Regions from separate parts of the Homo sapiens genome. Here region 1 is linked to region 2. Evidence: promoter capture Hi-C in 16 types of primary human blood cells and fetal thymus (Javierre and others, 2016). All regions are on one chromosome and are shown on one strand. The core of a region is centred on a gene start or on the middle of the fragment in contact, and the rest is flanking DNA. Distances in the headings are between cores, read along the strand shown. Region 1 overlaps TATDN2 (TatD DNase domain containing 2). Region 2 holds the start of VHL (von Hippel-Lindau tumor suppressor).

Region 1 (4,650 bases), core at 930-3,429, 120 kb after region 2:
CTGCTGTTGACAAGAGCGGGGAAACCCGGCTGACACCTGGCTGCAAGGGAGTCTGGAAAATCAGCCTTTATCTAGGCAGACTTGTACCTGGATAACCAGAGAAGAAGGGAAGGATGTCATTGGACGGAAACTAGTGATTTTTAACATAGCTTATAATTGAGGGGAAGCATTCCTCCATCTTTTTCTTTTTTTTTTTTTTTTTGTTGTTGGGACAGAGTCTTGCTCTGTTGCCCAGGCTGGAGTGCGATGGTGCAATCTTGGCTCACTGCAACCTCCACCTCCTGGGTTCAAGCAATTCTCCTGCCTCAGCCTCCTGAGTAGCTGGGATTACAGGTGTGCGCCACCAAACCGGCTAATTTTTGTATTTTTAGTAGATATGGGATTTCTCCATGTTGGCCAGGCTGGTCTCGAACTCCTGACCTCGTGATCCACCTGCCTTGGCCTCCCAAAGTGCCGGGATTACAGGCATGAGCCACTGTGCCAGGCCACATTCCTCCATCTTACTCGTCTCCACCCATCCTTTACTACTGCTCTGCAGGCAGCTTCTCTCATCTTTAGCTCTTTCTTCTAGTACTTACCCCATGTTTCTAAATAATCTTTACTGTTGATCAGTTTTTCAGTTTTAGATGTCTGAGGACTTCTTGCTTGGGCGATGAGAATTTAGTTCTCTATACCTCCTTCAGAAGCACCCACACCCAGGGACACATTAGCTTCCCCTTTCTGCAGCCTCCCTGTGTGGCTTGAATACCTTTTGGGTTAAGTCTGTGTAAGATTTGTTACTGCCATGTTCACAGCTGAGTCGCCTTGTATACTCTGATCACATTTTCTTTCTTGTAAAACTTCATTTTCCTTAAAGTTCATCATTACTTTGTTTTTCCTTTGGTTTTCCTGGTACCTTTCACTAATTAATCCCCAAACTGCGAGAGCTGTAAAATCCTTCTCAATACTGTCAAAATAAGGAATCTGTTTCTTTTTTTTCTCTCTTGGAGGTATACGTCCTCAGCCCTCTGTTGTCCTGCTCTGGTCTGGACTGCCTGCCGTCAGGCCAGCTGGCAGCTGTCTCTCTGGAGCCTCCTTCACATTTCTCCCGGATTGAGTCTTCTGCTACCTATACTCTGTGTCTTCTCATGTTCTTCTTCCTTGGTTTACTCTCACATTTTGGTGGAATACTTTTTCTAGTAGCTTCTTGAGAAAGGGTACATGGAGAAACTTTTTTTGGTAAACATGTGTCTGAGATTGCCTTTATTTTACCTTTAACCTTGATTACAAGCTTGGTTGGTTTTGGAATTCCAGGTTGGAAATTGTTTTGTTTGGGATTTTGAAGGCATTGCTCCTTTTCTTCTGGGCTTTTTTTTTTTTTTTTTTTTTTTTGAGGTGGAGTCTCGTTCTGTCTTGCCCAGGCTGGAGTGCACTGGTGTGATCTTGGCTCACTGCAGCCTCCACTTCCTGGGTTCAAGTGATTCTCCTGTCTCAGCCTCCCGAGTAGCTGGGATTACAGGCACACGCCACCACACCTGGCTAATTTTGTATTTTTGGTAGAGACAGAGTTTCATCATGTTGGCCAGGCTGGTCTCAAACTTCTGACCTGAGGTGATCCACCTGCCTAGGCTTCCCAAAGTACTGAGATTACAGGTGTAAGCCACTTCGCCTGGCCTCTTCTGGTTTTCTTGATGTCTGAAGCTATGCTGGTTCCTGAACCTTGGTATATGATTTTTTATTTTTTATTTTCTTTTGCTTTGAGACAGAGTTTTGCTCTGTCACCCAGGTTGGAGTCCAGTGGCGTGATCTCAGCTCACTGCAATCTTCACCTCCCAGGTTCAAGCGATTCTCCTGCCTCAGCCTTGTGAGTAGCTGGGATTACAGGCATGTGCCACCACACCCGGCTAATTTTTGTATTTTTAGTAGAGATGGGGTTTCACCATTTTGGTGAGGCTGGTGTCGAACTCCTGACCTCATGATCCGCCCGGCTCAGCCTCCCAAAGTGCTGGGATTACAGGTGTGAGCCACCGTGCCCAACCTGTATTTTTTTTTTTTTTCCCTCTGTGGAATCTTGTAGAATATATTTTGATCTCAGGGCTCTGAAATTTCATGGTGGTGGTGTCTACTTTGCTTAGCATGGGACATTCCCTTTCAATCTAGAAACCCTTGTACTTTAGCTGTGGGAAAAGTTCGTGAATTACTGTACTTCGCTGATGTTTTCTTTCCGTATTTTTCTTCTCTCTTTCTCTCTCTAGCTTCTCTACCTTCTTTCTCTTATTTGGATGTTGGATTTTTCAGGACTGGTCCTGTAATTTTATTGCCTTTCTCCCTTGTTTCTAGCCAATTTCTTGCTTTACTTTGTAGGATATTTCCTTTTCTTTATCTTCCAACCCAGCTGTTTATTTAGTTTTACTTTTCTACTGTCATGCTTTTTATTATCCAAGAGCTCTTTTGTTTTTTAATAACATCTCTGTTCTTGTTTCATCTTCTGTTATCTCTTTTAGGGAGTTCATGGTAGTTTTTTGGCTTGGTTTTAGTTTTCTTTAAGTTGCTTCTTTCCGTTTCTTTTGATCTCTTCTGTGTTAGAGGCTGCCTTCACATGTCTGGTAATCTTTGGTTGTCTGTTTATGATCAAGAATGGGAGGATTAAAAAGCTGTTTGGAAGCTCTGAGCGTAAAGACTTTGAGCTTTGCTTTGGGATGATCGGGAGAATATAACCCTCTTCCCCTTGCCATGTCACTGCTTTTAGGAAAGCCTCGAGACTGGTCACCTTGCCCAGAGGAGTGTTTTTCAGCCTGCTTAGGAGGAAAGGTGGCTGGGAGCTGGGTAGCGAAAGGGGCGGCTGCGGGGGCGGCGTCAGCATTCACTTAATCTTTGTCTTTTTGGTGCAGTACCAGTGCCCTCCACTGAGCTGACCAGGCCTTATTCTAGAGATCCTCTTGTTTTACTGTCTTCAAACAACTCACCTTCTCTGAGTATGAGGAGGGAATCTGGGATCTAACTCATTGGAAACCAGATTTCACCCTGTCCTCCTCCTTTTAATGTTCTTCTGTAACTCCAGTTCCTCCAGTTCCCAAGGTGCCCAGTACCGCGAGTGCCTGCTCTGTTCTAAGCTTTCCTGGTGCCTAGCTTAGGTCTCAGCCTTCTCTTGGTCTGCCAGTGAGGTGTTATTTGGCCATCTGCTTTCTAGCCTCCAGTGCGTGATCACTGTAGTCTCTTGTTCTTCCTGTTCTGGTGTTTTTGTTATTGTAGAGGGGTTTTATTTGTTTTTTGTTTGGTTTTTAGATTCTTTAGTTTTAGTGAGGTTTCAGGAAAGAGTAAAATAAGTCGAATTTGTTCAGTACATCCTTAGCCTAGAAAAGTTCTGGGAAAATTTCTTGATTATTTGATTTCTTGTCTGTTTCTTCTTTTTCTGGACCATCTATTTTATGCTTGGTCTTTCGGATGGAAATTCCAATTTTCTTTTCTTCCCAGTGAATCCTTTTTAAAAAATTTTTCTGGATGGTTTCTTCAACTTTATCTTCTTTTTTTTTTTTTGAGATAGAGTCTCACTCTGCCACCCAGGCTGGAGTGCAATGGCTTGGTCTTGGTTCACTGCAACCCCTGCCTCCCAGGTTCAAGCGATTCTCCCGCCTCAGACCCCTGAATTGCTGGGACTATAGGCGCATGCCACCATGCCTGTCTAATTTTTGTATTTTTAGAAGGGACGGGGTTTCATTTTGGCCAGGCTGGTCTCGAACTCCTGACCTCAGGTGATCTATCCGCCTCGGCCTCCCAAAGTGCTGGGATTACAGGCGTGAGCCACCGCGCCTGGCTCAAGTTTATCTTCTAACGTTTATGTTGATTTTTTTTTTTTGGTCTTTTTTTTTTTTTTCCTGTGCGTGGTTTTTTTTTTTTTTTATTGCTGCCAATTTTTTTTTCTTTTTTGTCTTTTTGAGACAGAGTCTCACTCTGTGGCCCAGGCTGAAATACAGTGGTGTGATCTCAGCTCACTGCCACCTCTGCCTCCTGGGTTCAAGCAATTCTCCTGTTTCAGCCTCCTGAGCAGCTGGGATTACAGGCATGGACCACCATGCCTGGCTAATTTTTGTATGTTTAGCAGAGACAGGATTTCACCATGCTGGTCAGGCTGGTCTTGAACTCCTGACCTCAGGTGATCCACCTGCCTCGGCCTCCCAAAGTGCTAGGATTACAGGCATGAGCTACCACGCCCGGCCAGAACTTTAAAAATTAAAAATTTTAGCTGGGCGTGGGGCTCATGCCTGTAATCCCAGCACTTTGGGAGGCTGAGGCAGGTGGATCATGAAGTCAGGAGATCGAGACCATCCTGGCTAACACGGTGAAACCCCGTCTCTACTAAAAATCCAAAAAAATTAGCCAGGTATGGTGGCGTGCACCTGTAGTCCCAGGTGCTGGGGAGGCTGAGGCAGGATAATGGCGTGAACCTGAGAGGTGGAGCTTGCAGTGAGCTGAGATTGCACCACTGCACTCCAGCCTGGGCAACAGAGCAAGACTCCGTCTCAAAAAAAAAAAAAAAAAAAAAAAAGTTTTTGTCATCCAGGTTGGAGTGCAGTGGCATGGTCATAGCTCATTGCACCTTTATTTTTCTGTGGTCCCCTTGGTTTAACTTTTCCAAGCATCAACTTTTGTCCTTTGCTGGGTGGGGAAAGG
Region 2 (4,984 bases), core at 2,485-4,984:
CAAAATATATCCCCCTTAGAGAAAATTTGGAAAAGACAGAAAAGGAGATAGAACAAGTCACCAGTTGTCTTTATTTATTTATTGAAACGGAGTCTCGCTCTGTCGCCCAGGCTGGAGTCCGGTGGCGCCATCTCCGCTTACTGCAAGCTCTGCCTCTCGGGTTCATGCCATTCTCCCGCCTCAGCCTCCCGAGTAGCTGGGACTACAGGCGCCCACCACCATGCCCGGCTAATTTTGTTTTTGTATTTTTAGTGGAGACAGGGTTTCACTGGGTTAGCCAGGATGGTCTTGATCTCTTGACCTCGTGATCCACTTGCTTTGGCCTCACAAAGTGCTGGGATTACAGGCGTGAGCCACTGCGCCCGGCCCACCGGTTGTCTTTAGACATTGTATTTTTTATTCTTTTCTACATGTCTTTTTGCCTAATGAAAAGTGTACTGTAAGAAAAATTTTGCCTGTGTATTCTAAACTTGTTTCCTTTGCAACTTTTTCTTTTCTTTTTTCTTTTTTGAGACAGAGTCTCGCTCTGTTACCCAGGCTAAAGTGCAGTGTCGCGATCACAGTTCACTGCAGCCTTGACCTTCCTGAGCTCAGGTGATCCTCCAGCCTCAGCCTCCTGAGCAGCTGGGACTACAGGTGCACCCACGCCCGGCTAATTTTTTGTATTTTTTGTAGAGACAGGATTTCATCATGTCGCCCAGCCTAGTGTCGAGCTCCTCAGCTCAAGTTATCCGCCCACCTCGGCCTCCCAAAGTGCCGGGATTACAGGCACAAGCCACCGTGCTTGGCCACCCCTTCCTCTTAAATGATCTTTGAAACATTATTTGCAGTCTCAAAGCCTGCATTTATCTAAACAACTGGTTTCATTTTAGGGATGTAGGCATTTCTGTAATATTAAACTGTTATATTTCACCTCGCTAGCATGGGAGTACAACTGAGGGGATGTTTGCATGAATCTTGTGAATTATGATGGCTCTAAGCCATTGTAATTTGATTAACAGAAGTCCTACTTTGGGGTTTATCTTATTTTTATTATTTATTTATTTTTTGAGTGGAGTCTCACTCTGTTGCCCAGGCTGGAGTGCAGTGGTGCTATCTGGGCTCACTGCAACCTCTGCCTCTGGGGTTTAAGTGATTCTCCTGCCTCAGCATCCCGAGTAGCTGGGATTACAGGCGCAGGCCACCATGCTGGCTAATTTTTTGTATTTTTAGTAGAGATGGGATTTCACCATGTCGGCCAGGCTGGTCACAAACTCCTGACCTCAAGTGATCTGCTCACCTTGGCCTCCCAAAGTGCTGGGATTACAGGCATGAGCCACTGCGTCTGGCCTACTTTGGGATTTTTCTCTACAGTGTTTTCATGTTGTTAATGTAGCTGGGGGTCCAGCATCACTGCTGGTCACTTAATCCTGCTGGAGGCCACCAGGATACACCATCTCTGTGCAGTGAGCTGTCAAGGAGAGCCCTAGGCAAAATTACTTAGGTTCATGGTGTCAGTGCTTTTGTGGAGATATCCAACTCCTGAGGTTCACTCATACTGTCATTTTCTCCTAAGGCATCAGGTGATGAGCCTCTCTGATCCAGCATTTTGACTACCCTTTTCACATTTTTTTTTTTTTCTGAGACAGAGTCTGGCTCTGTTGCCCAGGCTGGAGTGCAGTGGCATGATCACGGCTTACTGCAGCCTCAACCTCCCAGGCTCAAGTGATCCTCCTGCTTCAGCCTCCTGAGTAGCTGGGACTACAGGTGCACGCCACTATGCCTGGCTAATTCTTTCATTTTTTATAGAGACAGGACCTCGCTATGTTGCCCAGGCTGGTTCCAACTCCTGAACTCAAGTGATCCACCTGCCTTGGGCTCCCAAAATCTCGGGATTACAGGCGTATAGTGCTAGGCCTTCACATTCTTATATACCCTTCTGTTTCCTTAGCTGTGAAATGGAGATAATGACATAGCCTTAATTCACGTGGGATGCTTAGCACAGTGTCTGGCACTTGATAGATTTTTTTCTTTCTACTTGAAATTTATTTTTGAGCTGGGCACGGTGGCTCACACCTGTAATCCCAGCACTTGGGAAAACCAAGGCAGGCAGATTACCTGAGGTGAGGAGTTCAAGACCAGCCTGGCAAACATGGTGAAACCCCGTCTCTACTAAAAGTACAAAAATTACCTGGGTGTGGTGGCACACACCTGTAATCCCAGCTACTCCAGAGGCTGAGGCACGATAATCACTTGAACTCGGCAGATGGAGGTTGCAGTGAGCTGAGACTGAGCCACTGCACTCCAGCCTGGGTGATAAAGCGAGACTGTCTAAAAAAAAATTATTTTTAACTAATATAAAACTCTCTGAACCCTTCTTTTTCTGAGCTGCTTCTCCACTTGAGTCCATCCCACATCATTGAACATTTAATTACACAGAATTGTGTACCATCTTCCTTGACCCCCAGATCTTTAGCCTTCTATAGTACCCTGTCTCTTTTTGTCGTACTAGTCACAGTTGCACTTTTTTTTTTTTTTTTTTTGAGACAGAGTCTCATTCTGTCACCCAGGCTGCAGTGCAGTAGCACAATCTCAGCTCACTGCAACCTCCGCCTCCCGGGTTCAAGCAATTCTCCTGCCTCAGCCTCCTAAGTAGCTGGGATTACATGCGCGCACCACCACGCCAGGCTAATTTTTGTATTTTTAGTAGAGACGAGGTTTCACCATGTTGTCAGGCTGGTCTAGAACTCCTGACCTTGTGATCAGCCCACTTCAGCCTCCCAAAGTACTGGGATTACAGGCATGAGCCACTGCACCCGGCCATAGTTGCTATTTTATTTGTGTGATTGATTACCGTATGACGCTTTTATTGAAGTGCAGTGAAGGCAGGAAACATGACCGGTTTTTACAATATTTTCAACACTTATCACCATAGGTGGTACATAGTAGGGCCTTAATAAATATTTGTAAAATGAACAAAGTTAATGAGTGTTTATGTTTGTAGTTTTAATTGCTCTGAAGTAAATATCTGATTTTCCAATTTCCACCAGAGTGCTCTGCACATAGTAGGTCTAATTATTTTTCCCTCTTTACTAATCACCCATGCCTTGTAAGAATTCAGTTAGTTGACTTTTTGTACTTTATAAGCGTGATGATTGGGTGTTCCCGTGTGAGATGCGCCACCCTCGAACCTTGTTACGACGTCGGCACATTGCGCGTCTGACATGAAGAAAAAAAAAATTCAGTTAGTCCACCAGGCACAGTGGCTAAGGCCTGTAATCCCTGCACTTTGAGAGGCCAAGGCAGGAGGATCACTTGAACCCAGGAGTTCGAGACCAGCCTAGGCAACATAGCGAGACTCCGTTTCAAACAACAAATAAAAATAATTAGTCGGGCATGGTGGTGCGCGCCTACAGTACCAACTACTCGGGAGGCTGAGGCGAGACGATCGCTTGAGCCAGGGAGGTCAAGGCTGCAGTGAGCCAAGCTCGCGCCACTGCACTCCAGCCCGGGCGACAGAGTGAGACCCTGTCTCAAAAAAAAAAAAAACACCAAACCTTAGAGGGGCGAAAAAAAATTTTATAGTGGAAATACAGTAACGAGTTGGCCTAGCCTCGCCTCCGTTACAACGGCCTACGGTGCTGGAGGATCCTTCTGCGCACGCGCACAGCCTCCGGCCGGCTATTTCCGCGAGCGCGTTCCATCCTCTACCGAGCGCGCGCGAAGACTACGGAGGTCGACTCGGGAGCGCGCACGCAGCTCCGCCCCGCGTCCGACCCGCGGATCCCGCGGCGTCCGGCCCGGGTGGTCTGGATCGCGGAGGGAATGCCCCGGAGGGCGGAGAACTGGGACGAGGCCGAGGTAGGCGCGGAGGAGGCAGGCGTCGAAGAGTACGGCCCTGAAGAAGACGGCGGGGAGGAGTCGGGCGCCGAGGAGTCCGGCCCGGAAGAGTCCGGCCCGGAGGAACTGGGCGCCGAGGAGGAGATGGAGGCCGGGCGGCCGCGGCCCGTGCTGCGCTCGGTGAACTCGCGCGAGCCCTCCCAGGTCATCTTCTGCAATCGCAGTCCGCGCGTCGTGCTGCCCGTATGGCTCAACTTCGACGGCGAGCCGCAGCCCTACCCAACGCTGCCGCCTGGCACGGGCCGCCGCATCCACAGCTACCGAGGTACGGGCCCGGCGCTTAGGCCCGACCCAGCAGGGACGATAGCACGGTCTGAAGCCCCTCTACCGCCCCGGGGTCCATTTTGCAGACGGGGAACTGAGGCCCCTTGAGGCAGGACACATCCAGGGTGACGCTGCTCGTAAGCGTCAGAGCATTCTTTTTTTTTTTTTTTTTTTTCTGAGACGGAGTCTCGCTCTGTCGCCCAGGCTGGAGTGCAGTGGCGCGATCTCGACTCACTGCAGCCTCCGCCTCCCGGGTTCAAGCGATTCTCCTGCCTCAGCCTCCTGAGTAGCTGGGATTACAGGCGTGCGCCACCGCGCCCGGCTGATTTTTATATTTTTAGTAGAGACGGGGTTTCACCATGTTGGTCAGGCTGGTCTCGAACTGCTGACCTCGTGATCCGCCCGCCTCGGCCTCCCAAAGTGCTGGGCTTATGGGCATGAGCCTCCGCGCCCGGCCCAGAGCATTCTTTATAAGGCCGAATAGTTTGCATTTGAAGGTGGCTCCCCCCAGTCCCCCACCCCACGTGTATTTTCCCCTCAAAGAAAAGCTGCATCCTTAACACCCCATCTGTTCAGTCCTCATGACTCCAGTGGGCCAGTTCTGCGTAGTCCCTGCCCTCGTGGAGAACACATTCCTCCTGGGGAGACTGACAGATGCAAAGACAGGAACAAGCCAGGGTCATGTTGGCGCCGGAAGAGCCGACCGTGTGTGGCGTGGGAAATTGACTTACCTGCCTGCTGGGAGATGGAGGGGTTGCGGTTGTGTGGTTTCAGTTAAGGAGCACTTCCCGGAGAAGGAAGAGAGCAGGATGGAGTAGGAACTAGCCAACCCTAGGTAAGA

The links. The method cuts DNA at HindIII sites, captures the fragments that hold promoters and counts their contacts. A CHiCAGO score of 5 or more calls a contact.
Region 1: a fragment that was not itself captured here is called in contact with the fragment with the promoter of VHL in region 2 in 15 of 17 cell types (non-activated CD4 T cells, activated CD4 T cells, fetal thymus and 12 more); the score reaches 10.8 in non-activated CD4 T cells.

The regions. Positions count from the first base shown.
Region 1 is chr3:10,261,181-10,265,830 of GRCh38, forward strand. The region is part of intron 3 of TATDN2 (TatD DNase domain containing 2); the gene reads left to right. Among named protein-coding and RNA genes, the nearest start is that of TATDN2, 15 kb to the left of the region's middle. RefSeq lists a silencer at 2,755-2,944. The HindIII fragment of the contact is 1,822 bases long and covers 1,269-3,090 here.
Region 2 is chr3:10,138,044-10,143,027 of GRCh38, forward strand. VHL (von Hippel-Lindau tumor suppressor) reads left to right here and starts at 3,735. Exons shown (of 3, transcript NM_000551.4): 1 at 3,735-4,144. The coding sequence starts at 3,805. It also overlaps the pseudogene LOC124906359. RefSeq lists an enhancer at 4,652-4,984. The HindIII fragment of the contact is 16,438 bases long and covers 1-4,984 here.